Linked DNA regions of Homo sapiens: all the other regions are linked to region 7. The links are contacts of gene promoters, found by promoter capture Hi-C in blood cells and fetal thymus (Javierre and others, 2016). All regions are on one chromosome and are shown on one strand. The core of a region is centred on a gene start or on the middle of the fragment in contact, and the rest is flanking DNA. Distances in the headings are between cores, read along the strand shown.

The links. Contacts are between HindIII fragments. The CHiCAGO score rates a contact against its expected background, and 5 or more counts as called.
Region 1: a contact is called between the fragment with the promoter of PRH1-TAS2R14 here and the fragment with the promoter of CDKN1B in region 7, in 1 of 17 cell types (fetal thymus). The highest score is 9.3, in fetal thymus.
Region 2: a fragment that was not itself captured here is called in contact with the fragment with the promoter of CDKN1B in region 7 in 1 of 17 cell types (neutrophils); the score reaches 6.4 in neutrophils.
Region 3: a fragment that was not itself captured here is called in contact with the fragment with the promoter of CDKN1B in region 7 in 2 of 17 cell types (M0 macrophages and naive CD4 T cells); the score reaches 6.9 in M0 macrophages.
Region 4: a contact is called between a fragment that was not itself captured here and the fragment with the promoter of CDKN1B in region 7, in 1 of 17 cell types (fetal thymus). The highest score is 6.3, in fetal thymus.
Region 5: a fragment that was not itself captured here is called in contact with the fragment with the promoter of CDKN1B in region 7 in 3 of 17 cell types (total CD8 T cells, naive CD8 T cells and M0 macrophages); the score reaches 8.8 in total CD8 T cells.
Region 6: the fragment with the promoter of ATF7IP here is called in contact with the fragment with the promoter of CDKN1B in region 7 in 1 of 17 cell types (activated CD4 T cells); the score reaches 5.3 in activated CD4 T cells.

What each region holds. Positions count from the first base shown.
Region 1 is chr12:11,170,306-11,173,205 of GRCh38, reverse strand. It overlaps PRH1-TAS2R14 (PRH1-TAS2R14 readthrough), which reads left to right and starts at 1,595. Exons shown (of 5, transcript NM_001316893.2): 1 at 1,595-1,784. SMIM10L1 (small integral membrane protein 10 like 1) reads right to left here and starts at 2,012. Exons shown (of 1, transcript NM_001271592.2): 1 at 1-2,012. The coding sequence starts at 1,849. The coding sequence ends at 1,643. It overlaps PRH1-PRR4 (PRH1-PRR4 readthrough), which reads left to right and starts at 1,581. Exons shown (of 10, transcript NR_037918.2): 1 at 1,581-1,784. It also overlaps a transcript of PRH1 not described here. The HindIII fragment of the contact is 883 bases long and covers 1,092-1,974 here.
Region 2 is chr12:11,659,131-11,662,308 of GRCh38, reverse strand. The region is part of intron 1 of ETV6 (ETS variant transcription factor 6); the gene reads right to left. Among named protein-coding and RNA genes, the nearest start is that of ETV6, 11 kb to the right of the region's middle. The HindIII fragment of the contact is 5,715 bases long and covers 1-3,178 here.
Region 3 is chr12:11,572,657-11,575,964 of GRCh38, reverse strand. No RefSeq gene overlaps it. Among named protein-coding and RNA genes, the nearest start is that of LINC01252, 26 kb to the right of the region's middle. The HindIII fragment of the contact is 233 bases long and covers 1,589-1,821 here.
Region 4 is chr12:11,639,872-11,642,994 of GRCh38, reverse strand. No RefSeq gene overlaps it. Among named protein-coding and RNA genes, the nearest start is that of ETV6, 8.2 kb to the left of the region's middle. The HindIII fragment of the contact is 531 bases long and covers 1,196-1,726 here.
Region 5 is chr12:10,720,277-10,723,112 of GRCh38, reverse strand. It overlaps YBX3 (Y-box binding protein 3), which reads left to right. Exons shown (of 10, transcript NM_003651.5): 1 at 1-263. The coding sequence starts at 2. It overlaps LOC124902876, which reads right to left and starts at 61. Exons shown (of 2, transcript XM_047429946.1): 1 at 1-61. The coding sequence starts at 3. RefSeq lists silencers at 1-14, 145-544. The HindIII fragment of the contact is 949 bases long and covers 776-1,724 here.
Region 6 is chr12:14,364,201-14,367,407 of GRCh38, reverse strand. It overlaps ATF7IP (activating transcription factor 7 interacting protein), which reads right to left and starts at 1,726. Exons shown (of 15, transcript NM_018179.5): 1 at 1,581-1,726. LOC124902884 (a long non-coding RNA gene) reads left to right here and starts at 218. Exons shown (of 2, transcript XR_007063220.1): 1 at 218-2,059. RefSeq lists enhancers at 11-150, 1,507-1,566, 2,037-2,096, 1,328-2,145. The HindIII fragment of the contact is 10,385 bases long and covers 1-3,207 here.
Region 7 is chr12:12,715,727-12,718,617 of GRCh38, reverse strand. CDKN1B (cyclin dependent kinase inhibitor 1B) reads right to left here and starts at 1,250. Exons shown (of 3, transcript NM_004064.5): 1 at 304-1,250. The coding sequence starts at 778. It also overlaps a transcript of GPR19 not described here. RefSeq lists silencers at 684-872, 1,297-1,866 and enhancers at 1,047-1,146, 1,227-1,276. The HindIII fragment of the contact is 7,251 bases long and covers 1-2,891 here.

The DNA.
Region 1 (2,900 bases), core at 346-2,845, 1.5 Mb after region 7:
CTTACTACTTAAAGCCATAGAACACTGTTTGCTGGACACAATGAGTGGAATATAGAACAATGCAACTATTTTAACACTTTACCCCTCTTAGTGGTTTATTAGTTAATTTTTTCCTGAAAAAAAAAATGCGTATACTACTTTTTCTGCACTTTTCTATATCAGATCTTGATTTAAAACTTTACCACTCTTGGTGATTTATTATTAGTTTTTTTAATCCGAAGAAAACATGTGTATACTCCTTTTTCTGCATTTTTCTATATCAGATCTTGATTGGCTCACCACCATTACACACACACACATCTCTTTTCTCCCATCCTCCCAGCGTTATAGAATCATTTGTTGTAAAATCAGTATTCAGTATTTACATAATTATGACTGACTTTACATGACTACTATTATTCACAGTTGAGGTATACCGTGTATACAGTGTAGTTTTTAAATTTTTATTTTTCTCAGCGTTCAAAATTATATGTTCTGTTTTCTTAATTTTGAAAAATATGCATTCACTAATTTATCCCCACACTCTTTGGAAAATGAAAGCTCTCTAGGCTGTATTCAAATACACCAGGTACTCTATCAATTTTCATTTTTTAAACTATTCTACCTGAGCTCTCCATCTTTAGCCATTTCCTGTTGACTTCATACTGTTCTCCCCTACCACTCTCCCTCTTTAATATATTACCGTTTTAGAAACTTTATGGCTACCCTGTAAGTAATAAAAATGTCTTTCCCCACTCAACAACAGACAGTACCTTTCAAGTTTCCACTTTATAAGGACATAACCCCCATTCCATTTACTTCCCCCGCCCTCCTTCAACATTCCCACTTGTATTTTCCGGCTGTATTTTTAAAACATGGTAAATAACATTTGCACTCCACTTTGTAACCATAATTAAGTATGCCCTTAAACAATAAAAACCATAAACAACATTTGTATTTTACGATTATTTAAATGTTATTCACTGAACAGCCAAGCTTTGTGCTACTATGGGATTTCGTTTTCTGCGGTTCCAAGTCTTGATCCACGTCCTGCCACAGGATCACTGAAGTAGAGCCCATTTTCTTACACTCTCGCCATTAGTTCAAAAGCTTGCAGCATTTTATGTCTGGTACTTGGAGGATGATTTTCCTGTACAGTTTTGCGTTTTTTTCACCGAAAATTTCTGATTATTATTGTTTTCTCTTGTGGGATGAAATATGTACCTTCTATATCACAGCCTTAATACCTTCAGCTTCTTATTCATTGAAATCTTGCTTACAATCCAGTCCGAGGATTCCCGGTTTACTGATTTTCTTTTTCCTGCAAATTTTAGCCTTCTGTTTTGTTTTGAAATAATGCATCCTCTGCGCTTTGTCACATTCTGAAATTCGTCAGGTGTTTTAGGATGCACACTTTCTTAGATGTTTTCGAGGGTCTTAACTGCAGTTCTGTTTCCGGAACAGCGTATTCTCTTTCTAGGGATTGTAGGCTCCCGGCCGCCCCCTGAGGAGCTCCGCTAGCAGCTAAGAGGGCAGCCACGAAGAGCGCCTGAGCACTCTCGCGAGACTGTGGGGCTCGCCATTGGCTGCTCCGCCGCGCCGCAACGGACCCTGGGAGTCGGCCATCATGCTGGCCCCGGAGGCCGTTAGCTTAGTCATGGCTCTAAATATGTACCTGCAATCGGATGTTGAGGATCACCGAGCCCGCGACGTAGAAGTACGGGAAGTTCATGCGCAGCTGCCAGGCCAGCTCGAAGAAGGCGAGCAGGGTGCGGGAGAGCCCCTTGCAGAAGACGCCGTACGAGGTGGGTGTCGCGGCGGGGCTTGAGGCCCTGACGGCCAAGGAGGACGGAGCCGCCGCGGGGGCCATGAGCCAGGTGTCGCCGCCCGCCCAGCGTCTGTAGCGAGGGTTGCCGCAGGGCCCGCGGACCTCCTAGCGACGGCTGGGACCGGCAGGACGGTAAGCAAAGCGGCTCCCGGGCTCACACCCAAGCTTGCCGCTGCCGCCGCTCGGTGCAGTGCGGCGCGTAGCCCCGGGCGCCGCTGGCGCTCCGCCCCTTCCTGTCTGCTTCTCACTGTGGCATTTACCATTTAGAGCTCAACTGATGGTAGGTGGCTCTGGAATAGGATGTGTTATATAGCATGTACGAACATCCATGCAGATAGTTCCACTTTAAAATGAAAAAATCTAAGCGAGATGTAACTTGCCGTAGGGCACAAAATTTGTAAGGGCCAAAGCTAGATTAAAACTTTAGTTTGTCTGCTGTGTTATGTGGGATGTTAGGAATCTTACCCTTTTGATTTCATAATATTAATATTAGGGCAAGATGATTCCTACGCCAATAAAAGCACAAGGTCTCTGTATTCATAATATACCATAGACATAAAAAGGATCACAATCTTAGTCTTTGGATTTTTCTATTTATTAGGAATATTTAAATTGCAAGTGACAGGAATGATAAACATTCAAGCAAAAAACTAGTGGACACACACGCGTATATACATAAGGACATACATACAAAATTATATTCCCAGCCATGTAAACCCTTAAAAAGTTCAGATTAGCTGTGGAAGCTTCAGCCATTTCTGCATGGAGATGCATCTGTGAAACCTGTGGCTAGGCTCCAAGAGCTGGAATACTACTCTGTACTTCCAAACTCTTTTTTTGTTGTTGTTTTTGAGACGGGAGTCTCGCTCTGTCGCCCAGGCTGGAGTGCAGTGGCGCGATCTCGGCTCACTGCAAGCTCCGCCTCCCGGGTTCACGCCATTCTCCTGCCTCAGCCTCCTGAGTAGCTGGGACTACAGGCGCCCGCCACCATGCCCGGCTAATTTTTTGTATTTTTTGGTAGAGATGGGGTTTCACCGTGTTAGCCAGGATGGTCTCGATCTCCTGACCTCGTGATCTGCCCGCCTCAGCCTCC
Region 2 (3,178 bases), core at 660-3,159, 1.1 Mb after region 7:
ACCTGCTGGCTCACCTACCTTTCTTCCTTCTTGCATTTTTAAGGTTTTTTGTTTTTTTCCACTCTGGGGCCTTATCCCACATCTCTCCCAGCAGGGCAAACTGCCTTGCACCCAAAAGATAAGTAAATATACTTGCTGTCTATGTCAGTGGCTCCTTGTTCATTTTCTAAGGGTAGATGGCTTCAAAAAGATAAAGTGTTGGGAAGGGTGGGAACATGCAAGACAGGTGTACTACCAGGTGCCCTACTTGAGATGTTACCTAACACCGAGGTCCTTTTGCTCATTGCCCTGCCTGTCTCGGCGAAAGTTAAAGATACTCTTACAGCACGCTGCAAAAGATTAGAGGATCATCACCCCAGCCTTGCTGTGCTCGCCAACATTCCCCCTGGATTCCATTGTGTTCCAAAGCCACATCTGACCTACAGCTGACTTCTGCCTGCAGAGGAGCACACCCTCATCTCCTCACTCACAGCCCTGCCAGACACAAGGAGCCTCAGAAATGCAAAGAGGCAGAACACAAAATTCAGAAAGGGAGCCTTTGTTTCTTTGGTTCTCTGAAGGAAAACACTCTTACCTCACCAACAGGTATGCTCTCTCCTTCCACCTCACCCGAAAGTATCAGCGTCAGCAGATGAAGGGAAGGACTAAATGGCACAAAATCAAAGGAGCTGGCTGTTGTCCAGGGGACTGGAGGTGTAGTCAGCCAAATCAGGTCATTCAGGTCTCAAAGTCGGGGAGAACAGGAGACTTACCCAGCCTGAAGAATCTGTCACCCAGACTTTATCCCCAAAACAACAACTCTCCTACTGGGTTCACCCCACTTTGAATAAAGACCAGATCAAAAGGTACAAAGTGAGAGTGTCCTGCTGTTCCCAGCCATTGCTGGCCATTAGTGGCCGTCAAGACCTATTAGTCAGGAGAGTGACGGGTCTCAAAAGTGCAAAGCACCAGTCAAGTGAACTCATGACACGGATCTTTAAAATCTCCCAGATCTCAAGTCAAAATGAGGACAAAATGGCTGGGCACAGTGGTTCATGCCTATAATCCTAGCAGTTTGGGAGGCCGAGGTGGGAGGATCACTTGAGCCCAGGAGTTCTGAGAGCAACCTGGGCAACAAAGCAAGACCTCGTCTCCACAAAAAGTTTTTTAAAAAAGTAGCCAGGCAAGGTGGTGCACCTGTAGTCCTAGCTACTCCAGAGGCTGAGGCAGGAGGATCACTTGAGCCCAGGACTTTGAGGTTACGGTGAGCTATGATCACGCCACTGTAGTTCAGCATGGGTGACACAGCAAGACCTTAAAGAAAAGAGGATACAGCAATTACAAAATGCACCACGGATCCAATCCTTCAGATGTGCCATTTTTCCAAAACCTGTCACAGGGACTTGGGTTATGAGTATCCAAAGAGGCCCAAAGAAAAAGAACTCACCTCTGTCCCTTTGGGTGCCTGGTCTGTGATCCCAGGTCAATACATGAAAATAATTAGCAAAACCACAGAGGTGAGCCAAGAGACACTACCATGAGGCTTACTCTAGCAGGAGTCTGATTTGATGGCCAAGGGCAGTTTGGGAAAGACAAATGGTCTGGAAATAACAACCAGCAATAAACTTGAGAGAAGTTTCCTTCCCTAGTCTGAGTTCTTTAAAGCAGTTAACAAAAGAGCTTAGCAAATTCCCACCATGTCCCCCATCTCCCTTTTTTTTTTTTTTTTTTGAGACAGAGTCTCACTCTGTCGCCCAGGCTGGAGTGTAGTGGCACAACCTCAGCTGACTGCAACCTCCACCTTCCAGGTTCAAGAGATTCTCCTGCCTCAGCCTCCCGAGTAGCTGGGATTACAGGCACCTACCACCACACCCGGCTAATTTTTGTAGTAGAGACAGGGTTTCACCATGTTGGCCAGGCTGGTCTTGAACTCCTGACCTCAGGTGATTCACCCGCCTCGGCCTCCCAAAGTGCTGGGATTACAGGCGTGAGCCACCACGCCCCGCCCCATCTCCCTTTTTATGAAGTCTCCATAATACTTCCTCCTGTATACCCTAGTGCAGATCTACTTGTCCACATATTAGTCACTAGGCTTGAGACCATACTTATTCTAAATTGTCTCTTTGATTTTTTTTGTTGATATATAATAGTTGTACATATTTTGGGGGTACATGTGACATTTTGATATCTGTGCAGATGTGTAATGATCAGATCAGGGTAGCTGGCATATCTATTGCCTCAAACATTTTTCTTTTGTGTTAGGAACAGTACAATTCTTCTAGTTATTTTGAAATACACAATAAATTGTTAACTCTAATTTCCCTATTATACTAATGAATACTATAACACATTCCTTCTATCTAGCTGTATTTTTGTGCCCCTTCGCCAACTCCTCTTCATCCCTTGAACTTGATTCTTCATTAGAGACCCCGGCACTCTTCCAGGCCACACCTGCAAGTGAGGTGGGCAGCTCTGGGCCCTCCCTCTTCCTTCCTCACCTCTTAGCAGTGCCAGAACTTCCCCTGCCACAACCCAGATTCACACTTTCACCAGGGAAACAAGAGAAAGTACTGGGGGAATGGTTAACTTCAGAGACAGGCTGTTCTCTGGGGTTCGATTTTTTAAATTACGAGCCTTACTTCTATCTGTAGCTCATTTTTTCCAGGAAATGCTTTAGAGTCTGCATGTCATCTTTGGTTATGGCAATCTTACGTATAGGGGACGTAAGTGAAGCAGGATTACTGACCTCATCAAAGAGATAAGTCCTAAGAAAGATAAAGTTACACGGCCTGTCATAACCCAAGGGAGAGGGGACAGGGCAGCTGAGAAGAAAATCACAAACTTCCACTTGTGGTTTCCAGGAGAAGATCAGAGGAGCAGTTTCTCTCCAAACCTAAACTCTTGCTTCAAGAGTATTAAGTAGCCCACACTTATTGCATGGTGGTAGGAGGGACAGGTGGGTAACATTTTCTCCACAATTCCTCAAAAAAGGGTTATTTTCCAGTCTATAGTTCATCTTCTCATCTGCCATGTACATACAAAGAATGACTTAGGATCGAATTTAGGTCCACAGCAAGAAGAATACAACTGCTGAAAAGAGACACTTCGGTCCCCTCACATCTGCTAGAGAGGAAGGTTTCCCCATGCCCCAAAGTAACAAACTTGGCCTTTTCAAACTCTTCTGTATAATTAAACTTCC
Region 3 (3,308 bases), core at 456-2,955, 1.1 Mb after region 7:
ACTCTAAGGACCACCTTTCACTCTTTGCCTATATTTCATCTCATATTCTTCTACAACACATTGACAAAAAACATTAAAAATATAATAATTCCTAAACTGCATAGTTTGTGAGTCCCCTTTATATACATTATAACATTTAAGTTTTCTTTACAACAGTGGTTTTTATTTGGGGTTTGAGGGTAATTTTACCCCTCACTCCCTGGGGACATTTGGCAATGTCTGGAGACATTTTTGGTTGTCACACTAGAAGTTGGGGGAGTGGTACTGGCATCTAGTGGGCAGAGATCAGAGATGCTATGATGCACAGGGCAGCCCTACATAACAAAGAATTTTACAGCCCCAGATGTCAAGAGTGCTGATAATGAGATTGAGAAATCATGCTTCACAGTTTCCTCATATTATATAAGGAAAACTTAATGAAAACAGGCCCAGAATGGAGGGGAATCAACTAATGATGGAACAAAAGGTCTATCTAGCTATTGTAGTAGCAGTAGAGCATCACTAAGTATTTCAATACTTTGTCAATTATAAGAGAATGTAAGAATGAAGAGGATTTCATCTTTATGGCTGGAACAGTTGTTAGTTGATCTACTATTTGCATAGTTGAAGAGAACCAAGCACATAAAATCTTGTGAGTGGTATAGTTGATCAAAAGCAGACCTGCTCCCAGAAGTTATGACTCCAGACCATTGATGCTCACACCCAGGTAGAAAGGGTAGCATGTGAAGAAGACAGGGGCCTTATAGGTGGAGAGAAGCTTGCAGGTACATGATGTTTGCCACAGTTCACATTTGGCTGAGATAATGGGGATAAAAGTATGATTTTTCAAAGTGCTCTGTGGCCTTTTCCATCATTGCAAAGTAGTGGAGGCTTAGGGTTTTGTCCATAAGAGCAATTTAAAATTACTTCAAATTTCTGCAACTCTATAGTATTAACACATTTAAAGTAGATACAGAAATAAAAATGTGCATGACCCTTCATCAAGGATTCTTTTTATTATAATTTATAATTTCATCCAGATGGCCAATAATAGAATATAGGATTGCAATATAATTCATGAAAAGAGTGGTAAGGAAGAACTAATAGAGCAGCATAGTTTAATGTACAAAATTAATCAAATTCTCTAAATTGCTTGGTGCTGTGTTTTCAGTTTTAGTGTTGATATTTAGTATCTTTTTTTTTCTTGGCTAGAATGAGAACAAACTCTCTCACTGTTCTCACAAAGACATTCTGAAGTTTCTTGAAAACTATAGAATCTGACATTATGCTTGTGAAAGAGAGAGAAATCTCTAATTCAGGACCAAGTTACACAATGTGAAAAAGAGATTATGGCAAAAGAATTGGTGTCACCAGGTACCTCTGTGCATGTATAATTTTGATTAAAATAACAGATGGATCATATAGGCACAGAGATGGAAATTCTAAGAAAGAATTTAAAAAATGCCAGAGCTCAAAAACACTGTAACTGAAATGAAAAATGCCTTCAGTGGGCTCATCAGGAGACTGGACATGGCTGAAGAAAGAATCTTGGAACTTGAAGATATGTCAACAGAAACTTCCAAGACTGAAAAGCAAAAAGAAAAAAGCTTCAAAAAAACCCAGAATAGAATATCTAAGAACTGTGGGATAACTACAAAATGTGTAACATATCAGGATAAGAGAGAAAATAACAGAAGAAATATTTGAAGCAATAATGACTGAGAATTTTCCCAAACACTTGTCAGACACCAAACTGCAGACCCAGGAAGCTCAGAGAACATAAAGCTGGAAAAATGCCAAAAGAAAAAAAAAAAAGACACCTAGGCATATCATTTTCAAGCTTCAGAAAGATAAAGAAAAAATCCTGAAAGAAAACAGAGGAAAGAAACACCTTACCTATAGAGGAGCAAAGTTTAGAATTACAGCTGACTTCTCCATGGAAACCATGTAAATAAGAAGAGAGTGGAATCAAATACTAAACACGGTGAGAGGAAAAAATCCTACCGACTTAAAATTCTATGCCCTGTAAAATTATCCTTCAAAAATGAGGGAGAAATAAAGGCTTTCTCATACAAACAAAAAAATGAGGGAAACTGTTGCTGGTAGGCCTGCCTTCAAAGAAAGTTGTTGTTTTTTTTTTTTTTTTGAGACAGAGTTTCACTCTTATTGCCCAGGCTGGAGTGCAGTGGCGTGATCTCGGCTCACTGCAAACTCCGCCTCCAGGTTCAAGCAATCTCCTGCCTCAGCCTCCCGAGTAGCTGGGATTACAGGCATGCGCCACCACGCCCGGCTAATTTTGTATTTTTAGTAGAGATGAGGTTTCTCCATGTTGGTCAGGTTGGTCTTGAACTCCTGACCTCAGGTGATCCTCCCACCTTGGCCTCCCAAAGTGCTGGGATTACAGGCGTGAGCCACCGTGCCCAGCCAGAAAAATTAAAAGAAGTTCTTTAGTGACAAGGAGAATAATCAAGGTCAGAAACCTGGATCTACACAAAGAAAGGAAATGTACCAGAGAATGAGTAAATTAAAGCAAAATAAAATCTTTGATTTTTCTTAGCCTTACTTGATCTAGCAGATAATCATTTGTTCAAAATAATAGTAGTAATGATGTTTTTGATTATATGTGCTTATGTATATAACTTTGGTAAAAACAAATAATAGGCCAGGCACAGTGGCTCATGCCTGTAATCCCAGCACTTTGGGAAGCCAAAGCAGGAGGGTCACCTGAGCCCAGGAGTTTGAGACCAGCTTGCGAAACACAGCAAAACCTCATCTCTAAAAAAAAAAAAAAAAAAAAAAAAAAAATTAGCCTGGCATGGCTGTGTGTCCCTGTAGTCCCAGCTACTCTGGAGGCTGAGGCAGGAGAATAGCTTGAGCTCAGGAGATCAAGGCTGCAGTAAGCTGTGATTGCACTCCAGCCTGGGTGACAGAATGGGACCCTATCTCAATTAAATAAATAAAAAAAAAGGATGCCTTTCTGTTTTTTAAAAAATGAGTTATAGCCAGATGCCAAAAGTGTCTTTTTTCAATTTCTTGAAATATATACCCTAATAAAGAGGAAACATAAAAACTTGCATCAATATTAAAATTAAGAATGATACTCAAGATATTGCCAGAATCTGAAATAAATGTTCACTCTTTACAATTACTGTGGAGTTTGCAGTAGATTATTCTTGGGACAGGTGCTGGTCTTCAGATTCTTTCTTTTCTGGGCCCTTACCCCTTTCATACAGGCAATCTGGTCGCCATAGTACGATATTATATTATGTGACTCTGTTTCCCTGGCCATGATTTATATTGATCCAGGGTGACCATTTGTCTCTTATCAT
Region 4 (3,123 bases), core at 212-2,711, 1.1 Mb after region 7:
AGCAGAAGTGTGTGTGTGTGTGTGTGTGTGTATTCTGCTTCTTTGATTGCATGCTGACTGACATCATAAAAGAAATATATTTAAGGCAGCCATTTGGGAAGAGAAGATGGATGTAAAGTGGGTGAAACAAATTATAAGCTAGAACTCAAAAGCATGAAGTGGATCTCGTGAGAGTGAACCAAAACCCATATTAATTCTCATTGCCTCTGACCTTGATGGCCTGGGTGTTCCACACGAGCTGGAGTCCTTTGCCACAGAACTAAACACCCACATACCCGGCCCAGGAGTTGCAGAAGCTGAAGAAGGATCATGTTAAAGGTGGAGTAGTTGCAGCCCCAGTCACTGGCTCATCCCCATGAGGTGAGCCAACAGTTAAATGACCATGTGCATGAGCTAAAAAAATGTTTGCTGCTTTATATCTACCCTCCAAATCACTCCAGACTCTCCCTCTGTGGCCCACCATAACTAGAATCATAAAGGGAATTCTGGGAATGTAGTTCAACCTAGCCAAGTTGTCACATTATAAAGTCACTGCATATACTAATCAACTTTCCATCAGCCCACTCTTTGGCAGCTATATTTTTAGAATATTTCACAATTTTTGTCACATCTTTTTCTACCTGACCTTCAAACTACTGTCTTCCATATGTTTTCTCTTTATGGCTTCGCCACCTTTCTTACCAATGCCACCATATTGTTAACCTTTGAATTAATGAACCTCAGAATAAGTTTTGACATATTGATCTCTTCTATGCTTCATATATTGCCTGTTGCCAACTTTTTCTGTTTTATTCACAGATTCTCCTCTATATTTCCAGTTATCTTTCTAGAAGTAACAATTTTCTGGTTTGGATTCTTGCCATGTCCCTTTTTCCACCACCAAATTGTGTAGTTCATTTTCACTATTGAATCTTTCGTCTCTGCTAAAACACTATATTAGGTTTCTCTAGAGAAACAGAATCAATAGGATATAGATGGATGGATAAATAGATAGATACATAAGAGGAGATTTATTATGGGAATTGGTTTGTGCAATTATGGAGATTAAAAAGTCCCAAGATGTGCCATCTGCAAGCTGGGGAACCAGGAAACTGGTGGTATAATTGAGTCTGAGTCTGAGTCCAAGGGCCTGAGAAGGAGAGGAGCCAATGGTGTAACTCCCAGTTCAAGGCTGAAGGTCTGAGCACTAAAAGCTTCAATGTCTGAGGTCAGAAAAAGACAGATGTCCCAGCTCAAGAAGAGGAAGACAGAATTTGCCCTTCCTCCACCCTTTTGTTCTATTAGGGCTCTCAATGGGTTGGATGACACTTACCCACACCGGTGAAGGCAGTATTTTTACTCGGCCTATTGATTCCAATGCTAATCTCTTCCAGAAACACCCTCACAAACACACTTAAAGTAGTATTTTACCAGCTACTTGGCCATCTTGGCCCAGTCAATTTGACACATAAAATTAACCATCACAATCCTTACTTCATTATTCCAATTTCTATTTTTAGTCCTTGTTCATATTCAAAATTCACACAAACACACACACACACACACACACACTACGAAACCATTTGTTTTCTGTTAAGTAGTACCTGAAAACTACATCTTTCATGAATTCTTCTCCCATTGCTATAAACAGAAGGTATCCAAAAGATAAGCAGACAGTATGCTGGAGTGGATTTATTGTGTAAGATCCCTTCGTTAGGACCTGGGAGGGTCTCCTTTAATCAAAGCTTTAAGAAATGCATTGTTGCTGGGCAGGTTGGTGCACATATGTAGTCCCAGTTACTCAGGACACTGAGGTGGAAGGATCGCTTAAACCCATGATTTCAAGGCTGCAGTGAGCTATGATTTTGGCACTGAACTCCGACCTGTGCAACAGAGTTAGGGGCTCATCACTAGAAAGAAAAGAGAGAGAGAGCCAGAGACAGAAAAGAAAGAAAGCAAGAAGAGGGAAAGGAAAGGAGAGAGGAGGGGAGGGGGAGGGAGGGGAGAGGGGAAAAGAGGGAAAGAAAGAAAGGAAGAAAGAGAAAGAGAGAAAGAAAGCATTGCTGAAGCAAACACCAGAACCCTTTTGGAGTTCTATAGTAGCCATTCTCTGTAAGCCATTAATGTTGCCACCATCCCACAATTCACTGGGGATAGTGGGATACTGGAACAGAGGCACCAAGTGACATCACGTAACTATCTTTACTGCTAGGGACAAGAGAAACATGGTTGTAATAATGGACAGCAGAACTAAAGTGATAATCAGAATGGTTTGATCTTTGGTGTTGGCTAATTTATTTTGATATCCCTAGAATTAAGGTCGAAGTGGGGAGATCACTTGAGGTCAGGAGTCTGAGACCAGCCTGGCCAACATGGTGAAACTCTGTCTCTACTAAAAAAAACCAAAAAATTAGCCAGGCATGGTGGCGCGGGCCTGTAATCCCAGCTACTTGGGAAGTTGAGGTGGGAGAATCACTGGAACCTGAGAGTTGGAGGTTGCAGTGAGCCAAGAATGGGCGACTGCACTCCAGTCTGAGAGACAGACCGAGACTCTGTCTCAAAAATAAAATAAAATAAAATGATGGGTTACTAAAGCCTTACTTGATTTATATACACACAAAAAAAGTTCTAGGTGTGGAGTAGAAAAGTCTTGAGTTAAATTCCAGAGCAGTCCCGGATCCTCAGCTGATTGATTGCCACACCTGATCTAGTCCATAGACACAGAGCCCCTTGAATCAAGGGGAAGCAAGGCCTTTTGTGGAAGAATGCTGCTAGACTGCAAAAAATGTATTGTAAATCTTACTATCCTTTCCCAAAGGGATCTGTGGCCACTTATCAGTGTGATTGTACCTTGTGGGAGGGGAAATAAGTAGACTTTGGGAGGACTGCTGCACACTAGCACTGTTCCTAGAAACCCAAAATGTCACTGTGGTGCACCAGTCACAGTAGGGCCTTAAGAGGTCAGGAAATAAGTGGAGGTTTTGGCCTGAGTGCAACTCATAGTGGGTCTGGTGGATACCTGAACCCTAGGATTATTTTCCCAATTCTAAAATGCAGAGGTGGAATTCACATATTCAGCAAATGGCAGATTCCCAAATTGATTCCCCAAATTATGGGCCGTATTAGTCTATTTTCACACTGCTG
Region 5 (2,836 bases), core at 1-2,500, 2.0 Mb after region 7:
CATGAGTGAGGCGGGCGAGGCCACCACCACCACCACCACCACCCTCCCGCAGGCTCCGACGGAGGCGGCCGCCGCGGCTCCCCAGGACCCCGCGCCCAAGAGCCCGGTGGGCAGCGGTGCGCCCCAGGCCGCGGCCCCGGCGCCCGCCGCCCACGTCGCAGGAAACCCCGGTGGGGACGCGGCCCCCGCAGCCACGGGCACCGCGGCCGCCGCCTCTTTAGCCACCGCCGCCGGCAGCGAAGACGCGGAGAAAAAAGTTCTCGGTGAGTCAGGCCAGGGAGGGCAGGGGCTGCCGTAGTGGGGCGGGCCCAGCCGGCCGCGGAGCACGTGTGGGCAGCTCGCGCTACATCTCCCACCCGGGCTGGAGACGCTGACAGCACAGGGTCCCCAGGGATCTCCGGGTCCCCAGGGGTCTCCGGGTCCCCAGCGCTGGCCGCCTCCCTTGCCGGCGCTCCCAGGTGAGCGCGCTGCGCCCTGCGCTCCTGGCGGCCGTGTGCATCTCCCTTCTGGTTCCGGGCCAGAAAGTTTAGGTCTTAACTTCTGTCTCCCAGACGGGCACTGTTGCGGATTCGCGTGGTGGAAAATGCCTGCGTTTGGAGAAGAAAGGAGAGGCAGTCTGGGAGAGGGGACCTTGGGTAGGGATGGATGTAGGGGAAGGACCGACACGTGGGCCTGGCGCTTTGGGGTCCTTGCTTGGGATCTGGGAAAGGAGAGCATTTCCTTTGGGGAAGAGGAGGGCGCTAGAAGGAGACGGGGAGGGAAAGATAGAAAAGCTTCTTGCCAGGAAGGGTCAGGTGTCTGTCCCTGACGCCCTTCCCACATGGGCATGGGAAAGACGCCATGCTCCTGTTGGCCACATGCCAGCAAAGAGATGTTGCAATCGTCTCCGGGAAACTTGGGTCTTAGTCCCACGTCTTCCTCCCCCTCTCTGTGCCCACGGCTGCAAACAGCCATTCAGTGTCCACCAATGGCTACACGCTTCCCTCTTCCCGGACTGTGGGAACGCACGTGGTGTAGCAGCTGAAAAAACTTTGTCGGAAGTGGGGGTATGACGTTAGTTCAAAACATTGTTACCTTGGCACTTGTAACGTAGGAAGGGAAACAGGAAGATGAAATGTTGAGATTTGGGGGGGCAGTGGATGGAAAGGGTTTCTGTGATGGTTGTTGGTTTAGTCACATAACAAGCGTTCTTTTCGTAAGTAACGCCCCTGTGTGAGTTCTTAAACGCTTGCAAAGCAGGTGGGTGGTGAATAACCTCCCTAAAGGGTGTGTGTCCATATCGTTCGCTCTTATAAACAGGAACGTTAACAGATGGTGTAGGATGCTTCGGAGACCTCTTCACTATTTGGGGTGGGGCATGTTTGTCTCATCTCTCTGAGCCCTACTTCCCCTTTGGGAAGAAAGTTGAGGGAGCAATGTGAGAGAAGTGTATTCAATATTCCCCACCTTGAGAGGACTATTTTCTTGTTTTTTTTTTCTAGGGCTTTTACTAAGTCCCTACCAAACAACATGCTAATTGTAACCTGTGTAGGTTAAGAAACAAAATAGGCCTGATTTTGCTGGACTAAAAGTTGCTTAAATCTAGTCAGTAGTACATTGTGATGTTGTTTCTAGCAAATATTTCTTGGAACACTTTCTGCCAGATGTCTGAGAGAGAAAACCTTGTGTTCTCCAAAGCAGTGTTAGGATAACATTGTTAATGATACCTTATTTTGTAGAAAGCTTTTGCGGTTTTTCACTTAATCCTGTACTGTTCTGAGATTGGGAAAGCAGATACTATCTTTAAAGATGAAGGAAACAGATAAATGAAGGTTAATTTCCTCAAGCAACTGCCTCTGCAGATCCCTGGTGATGAGTCTGATGCCTTTTATCTTTCCACTCTTACTGCGTCTCTCTAAAAATGAAGGACAGCCCTTTCTACGTGACACCTCAACACTGTTTGTCTCTGTCTAGTGTGTCCTGCCATCCCCTTTCCTTTGCCAAGCAAACACATAGATGCCTAAGATGTACTAGGCACAATGCTGACTAAAATGGATATGTTCTAGTATTTGCAAATGGGCCTTCACTTGAGTTTATAAGCACATAGGCCAGGAAAAATAGTTTTCATGAGTGCAAAAAAATTTTCCTTCTGATAAATGTTATGGAAATCTATGGTCTTCCTCCCCAACCCTTCCCCTTAGTGTATATGAAGTGGGTTTATGGTTTAAAGCAAGACGTGGGAATGAATTTGATCATAAGAAGTCCTTGGAGAAGTATTTGCGGAATTACGAAACTTTTTTAAACTACATTGGAGAGTAAAAATAACCTTCAGCTTGGATTGAGGTTAGACCTGAGAATTATTTATCATCTTTTTCCTTTATTATTAGTATTGTCATTTTAATCAAGATTATTCCTTCAACAATGCTAGATATTAAAAACAGTTCCAGTCTTTATATTTTCCCAGGTAATTAATTTTTTGGGCAAATGAAAAGAGGCACTAAACGCATATTATTTGGAATATTGCCTGACTTAAATGCATATAATGTATCAAAAACAGGCCTCTACTGTGTACATTTGCATCGAAAACATCAACTGTTTTTTTCTCCTTTGCCTTGCTGCTCCAATCAGAGTGGCCTCAAACGTAAGATGGCCTGGGTTTGATCTCTCCTTTGGAGAGATGAGAGATCTTTGGAATTAAAGCTGGAGAATGCCTCATCAGTGTAGACTGCATAACTTTGGAGATATAAAGACATGTTTTTTTTGTTTTGGATTTTCTTTCCCCCAACAAAGAGAGCTAAAGTATTTTCCCAAGTGTATCAGTCTAGCAAACTTCAGAACTACCCCTGCCTACAACAGA
Region 6 (3,207 bases), core at 477-2,976, 1.6 Mb before region 7:
AAGAATTACATCAGGTCAAATATTCTCTTGAGAAAAAAAGAAGAATCTTTCCTACCTCCATTCTATCTCATATGTGACGTCATTTAAAAATCCACCAACCAAAAGTATTACTTTCAATTACATCTAGGTAATATTTACTAATGGTATTTGTTTTAGGCAATAAAAATTTCCCTAAATTAACCGAGATTATAAAGCAAGAGGCACGTCTTCATTTGACAGTAGACTGATTCAAACTTAAAGAGTTATAACCAACCAAGAAACCAGTTGTTGTATATATGAACCACAAATGAAGTCTATGGAAAACATTTGCAAGTTTCTTTGCTTAGTAAGAAAGAATTTGCACAACGGGAGAATCATATCAAATCTTATATAACTTCCCCCAATTGTGTTACATAAGATTTAACTATAGTTGACACTACCATTTTAAACTAATCAGTAGCATATTTATAATTACCTTCCCTAAAAAACTATTAATAAAACCAGGAGCACACTTACAATTAAAAAATCAAACACAACTGTATCTTACACACATGCATACAGTACAGTGTTTAAAAGAAAAAAACAGATTTTTTTTATTAATGGTCCACTTTCTTCAAAGAGGCCTCAGGGTAATGGATGTTCTTTCTAGAATTCTTCATCAGAAAAATTTACCAAATAAATGTTATAGCTTACATATCATAGCAAACAAAAATGCTAAGAAAATGAGTTGATTAATTTCAAAAGTAACAATAATCTAGCTGAAGCAGTAATGAACAAGTCACCTAAGAAACTTAAAACATGTAAAATTCAAATGCCCAGAAACATACAAACTGATTAAAATTAAAACTTTATTTACTTAGGATCAAACATTTAAAACCAAAATAATCCTCAGATTGAGATTTCATTTTCGATTATACTGTAATTTCTTCCACTATTCCCGTTCCCCCAATATTCCCAAAACTAAAATTGTTTCTGTTTTGTAAACATTCCACACATCCATAACAGAACAGGTAAAAATAGGGTTAAAAATGTATTTGCAAATATGCAGTTCAAATAAATGCACTTCCCGTGAGAACACCACTAGGTGCTGATCTTTACCACCGTAAATATAAACCTGAATCCAGTAATACTTTAAAACTGAAATTATAATCAAGAACCACAAATGAAAATCATTTTTACAGAAAATTAAGTCCACAATTTTTCAAAAAATCGAAAAAACAGAGAAGAGCTTGAGGTCGGCCCAGGAGTACAACATTAGAGTAATGTTTTTCTTGAAAATTGTGAGAATTTAAGGTTAACACAAAGAAACCCCTCAAGAACGAGGAAAATTAAATCTAGAACCCAAATGGCGTCCAACAAGAACATTAGATCTTGAAAATGAATATTGCGCTTGCGCAGCCACCGCCCCGCCAGCTGCACAACTGCAGCTAGAGCCCGACCCCGCAAGATCACGTGCTCCCATGCAGCGCCGCCCGCAGCTCCGCAACCGCGCAGGCGCAGACACAACTCCCGCAGCCGCCATAATGCGGTCTTGACTCTTCAGAAATACAATAGTAATTTAAGAAAATGTGGTTTTAACAGCCCCTGGGATTCACATATACCTTTTGGGGCGGAAGCTGAGGGAGGGGGAACCAAGTTCCTTCCTACAGAGCCGTCCCGCGCAGCCGTCCCCGACGTTGCCGCCTCAGCTTTTCGCGCGCTTCAGTCGCCGCGCCGCCGCTGCCACCGCCGCCGCCTCCGCAGATTCAAAAACAAACCCGCTTCTCCCTTGCACGCGCCGGGGCCGTTATGCAAATTAATATGGGCGGGGCTCCGGGGGGTCGTGCTATGTACCCCGCCCACTGTGCTATCAGCCAATAAGCTCAAGGACTAGCCATTCCCCATGCAAATTCTGGTTTTTTATTTGAATGAGGGACATTGGCCCCGCCTCCTGCGTGGAAAAGAGAAGGAAGCCCGAGGTGGTGGCGCTGCGTCTCTCAGTTGCAGTGTGAGGTGTGTTTTTTGAGTGGATCTTCCTCAATCAATAAGTAGCACTTTGTGAGCGCCCTCTATGAGGCTTAGAAAAGAAAGAAGGAAGGAGGTAGGTGAGAGTTTAAAGAGCAGAGGGAAAGATTTTCATAAAAGCCAGGAGTATGTTGATTTATTCATCATTTATGTTTTAAATTCACAGAATGTACTTTGAATTGTATTAATAATGAAGGAATGAAAAAAACATACTTTCTTTCAGTTGCTTGGTAACAGAGCAAGCACTTTTTATCATACTCTCTCACCAGAAGTTGTATTCATCCCATTTATTCAATTTCATGCTGGGAGTCGGCCTTTAATGAATTCCACAGGAGGTAGTGGACAAGTCACTGCCTTACTGGTTAAGAGATCTGGGTTCAAGTTCAACTACTGCAGCTTCCTTGCCGGTTCCTCGGAATAAGTGTGTTACTCAGTTTTCTCACCTGTATAATGGCAATCATGACTATAGTTGAACTAGGTTGGAAGCACTAAATGATAGAATAAATGTACATATGTTTTGGCCAGGTGCCGTGGCTCAGGCCTGTAATCCCAGCACTTTGGAAGTCTGAGGGGGGGTGGATCACCTGAGGTCAGGAGATCAAGACCAGCCTGGCCAACATAGTGAAACCCCGTCTCTACTAAAATTACAAAAATTAGCTAGGCATGGTGGTGCGTGCCTGTAATCCCAACTACTCAGGAGGCTGAGGCAGGAGAGTTGCTTGAACTGGGACCTGGGAGGCCGAGATTGCAGTGAGCGAAGATCTCACCACTGCACTCCAGCCTGGGCTACAGAGCAAGACCCCTTATCAAAAAAAAAAAAAAAAAAAAAGAATAAAAGTACATATGTTTTGCAAGGCAAGAATAGCCTGAAAATAATATTAGATGGTACCGTGTGGTTATTGTTTTTTTATGTAACTTCTCATTATATGAATGTATTGGTTCAGTATTTATTTAGCAATCACTGTGTTGTAGATCTGTTAGGTGCCTGTCCTCAAGAAATCTGTACTCTAGTGAAGAAGACAGAAAACTGAACAAGAAATTTTTGTAACTAATAAGAAATTAGAATAGGGTTGTTAATACTTATTTTTATAACTGGAACCATTCAATTTACTTAAAATATAAGGTGGCCTTTAGAAATATCACCTAGGGCCGGGTGCAGTGGCTCACGCCTGTAATCCCAGCACTTTGGGAGGCCGAGGCGGGCAGACCATGAGGTCAGGAGAT
Region 7 (2,891 bases), core at 1-2,500:
CCCTAGCCAGGAGGCGGACCGTTGATAAACATCCCAACTTTGTCACATACCTAGGAGTTGCTAGTGAGAGGGACCGCGATGTATTAAGTTAGGGAAATTATCGGATCTTACCATCTCCAGTTTCTGACTTAAAAGTCACAAACAGACAAGCAGTGGGCCAGGTAGCACTGAACACCTAAGACCAATAAAGTTAGCTCTCCCAAAGCTAAATCAGAATACGCCGAAAAGCAAGCTAAGGTTAACACCCTCCAGCAGGCAAAGCGGGGCCCCAAACACATTCTATGGTTGGGAAAGGGTCATTACCGTCGGTTGCAGGTCGCTTCCTTATTCCTGCGCATTGCTCCGCTAACCCCGTCTGGCTGTCCGACGGATCAGTCTTTGGGTCCACCAAATGCGTGTCCTCAGAGTTAGCCGGAGCCCCAATTAAAGGCGCCGCCGGGCGGCTCCCGCTGACATCCTGGCTCTCCTGCGCCGGCACCTTGCAGGCACCTTTGGGGGGCCGCGGGGGTCTGTAGTAGAACTCGGGCAAGCTGCCCTTCTCCACCTCTTGCCACTCGTACTTGCCCTCTAGGGGTTTGTGATTCTGAAAATCGAAATTCCACTTGCGCTGGCTCGCCTCTTCCATGTCTCTGCAGTGCTTCTCCAAGTCCCGGGTTAACTCTTCGTGGTCCACCGGGCCGAAGAGGTTCCTGCAGGCCGAGGGCTTGGGGTGCTCCGCCTGCCTGGCGTCCATCCGCTCCAGGCTAGGGCTCCCGTTAGACACTCGCACGTTTGACATCTTTCTCCCGGGTCTGCACGACCGCCTCTCTCGCACTCTCAAAAAAACAAAACCGAACAAAACAAAGCGCCCCTACGCAGCCCGAACCCCTCTCGGAAGCCCAGCGACTGCCCTCGGAGCCAAAAGACACAGACCCCGACGAGCCACGGCCCGAGCTCTAGGAGCGCGCAGGGGCTGCGGGGAAGCCCCGGCCCGGCCGCCGAGTCTCCGCTGATCAAATGGACTGGCGAGCGGGAGGGCGGAGAGGAGAGGGGACCAGGCAAGCGGAGAGGGTGGCAAAGCCCGTCCGAGTCTGGGCGGGTGCAAGCCCGCGGGTCCCGCGAACCCAGCCGCTCTCCAAACCTTGCCGGCGTCGGAGTCGCAGAGCCGTGAGCAAGCGGGGACAGGGGAGGGGGAGAAAAACACCCCGAAAAGACGAGCCCCCTTTTTTTAGTGGCCCAATATGGCGGTGGAAGGGAGGCTGACGAAGAAGAAAATGATTGACACGGCGAGTCTATTTAAACAGAGGAGGAGATCCATTGGTTGCGGCGGCGGGAGCCGCCCCGCCGAGGCTGGCGAGCGCGGCCTTAAGGTGGCCCCGGCGCGGTTCCGCCACCTCCCCTCGTTCCCGAGCGCGCCGCCTCCCCGAGCGCCGCCGGGAGATTGGCTGGTCGCGTGACTGCTGGAGGGGTACTGCTGCCAACAAACCTGCTCTGGCTGGCCTCGGAGAAATTAAAATTAAGACAAACAAACTAGCCAAACGGCCGGGAACCTGGGGCGGGGCCTGAGGTTCGGGGCCCGGCGCTGCGTTGGCGGGTTCGCCGCGGCGCCTAAGCCCCGACCTCCCTCCCGCTCCTCGCCCGGGAAGCCGGGACCTGGACCAGAGGACCGCGAAGGTCGCCGGCAGCTCGCTAGGAGCCGGGGTGGCGAGCTGCCCCCAGCTCGGCCCTCCCCAGCGGCCCCCACCTCGTGGTCTGCGGGGGAGGCCGCGGAGCGTTTGCTGGGGGGGCTGGGCGCCCCCCCGCCGGCGTGCCTTTGCTGGGGGCTGGTGGAGGCAGTGGGCAATGGTTCGCTCAGCCTTAACCCAGAAGTTTCTGCCATCCCTGGGGAGGCTGGGGGCCTAGGGAAGAAGCCAAAGCGAACGTCTTTCTTTTAGAAATTAGCCAGGAGTAGACGCGGCACTTATCATGAACTCAAGCTCTCCCTCAATGAAAATAAGAAAGGAACTCAAGATTAAAAAAAAAAAACAAAAAACTCTAGTCTCTCAAGTCCCTTAATAAACTTTGTAGCTGTCTCAGACACGTTTAGTTTTGAAAAACGAGGGTACACCCCTGGCCCAGGATCTTCCTTCCCAAGCACAGTTAAGGCCATGGACATTGGCTGCGTGTGGGAACTCGTCCCTTTCTACTTTTCTGTTCTTTCCCGGGATTGTAGCAGTTTCCTCTACCTGAGTCCAGCCGCCAAATACAACAGCTCCTTCCTTCCTCCACCCTTCTCTCTCACCAGATTTCACTGCTCCAACAAACTCAGAACAATATTCAGATGCTAGTGAATGCTTTCAGAGGGCTGAAGGGTGAAAATACTCCCCTCGGGGTCAAACTCCAGATGATGAAATGATTTTTAAAACACCACAACCATGTCCTAACGTCCGATACTAGTATTCCAGCGTTTCTCTTCTCCCTTTTGCAGCTGGAAATTTCTCTCTCAGTGTGGGCTTGAGCACCGTGGTGGAAGGTAAAGTAGGACGATGAGCAGGGCTGCCCTGAGACAAAGCTCAGTGGATCTTCAACTGCCTCCCCACCCCCATGCCCGGTACCCATCATCTTGGTTTGAGCCAAAGTTAATGCATTTTACTGGAAACCAACCTTCCGTTCTAATATTACACAGCAGCAAAGTTTTCTTAAGCACCTATGCTACAGATGAGCTTGATGTGTAGCTTGTTTTCTTAGCCACATCTTGTCCACTTTGTGTGCCTACCTCATCTCATACGCTCCAGAATGTGACAGCTGGAAGGGACCCTCGGGACCCTGTGGTTTAACCCTCTCCTTTTTACCACGGAGGAAATCGAGACTCAGAGAGGTTTCCTGTCCAGGGACATGCATTCGGTTGGTACCGGAGTCAGGACTAGATGCAA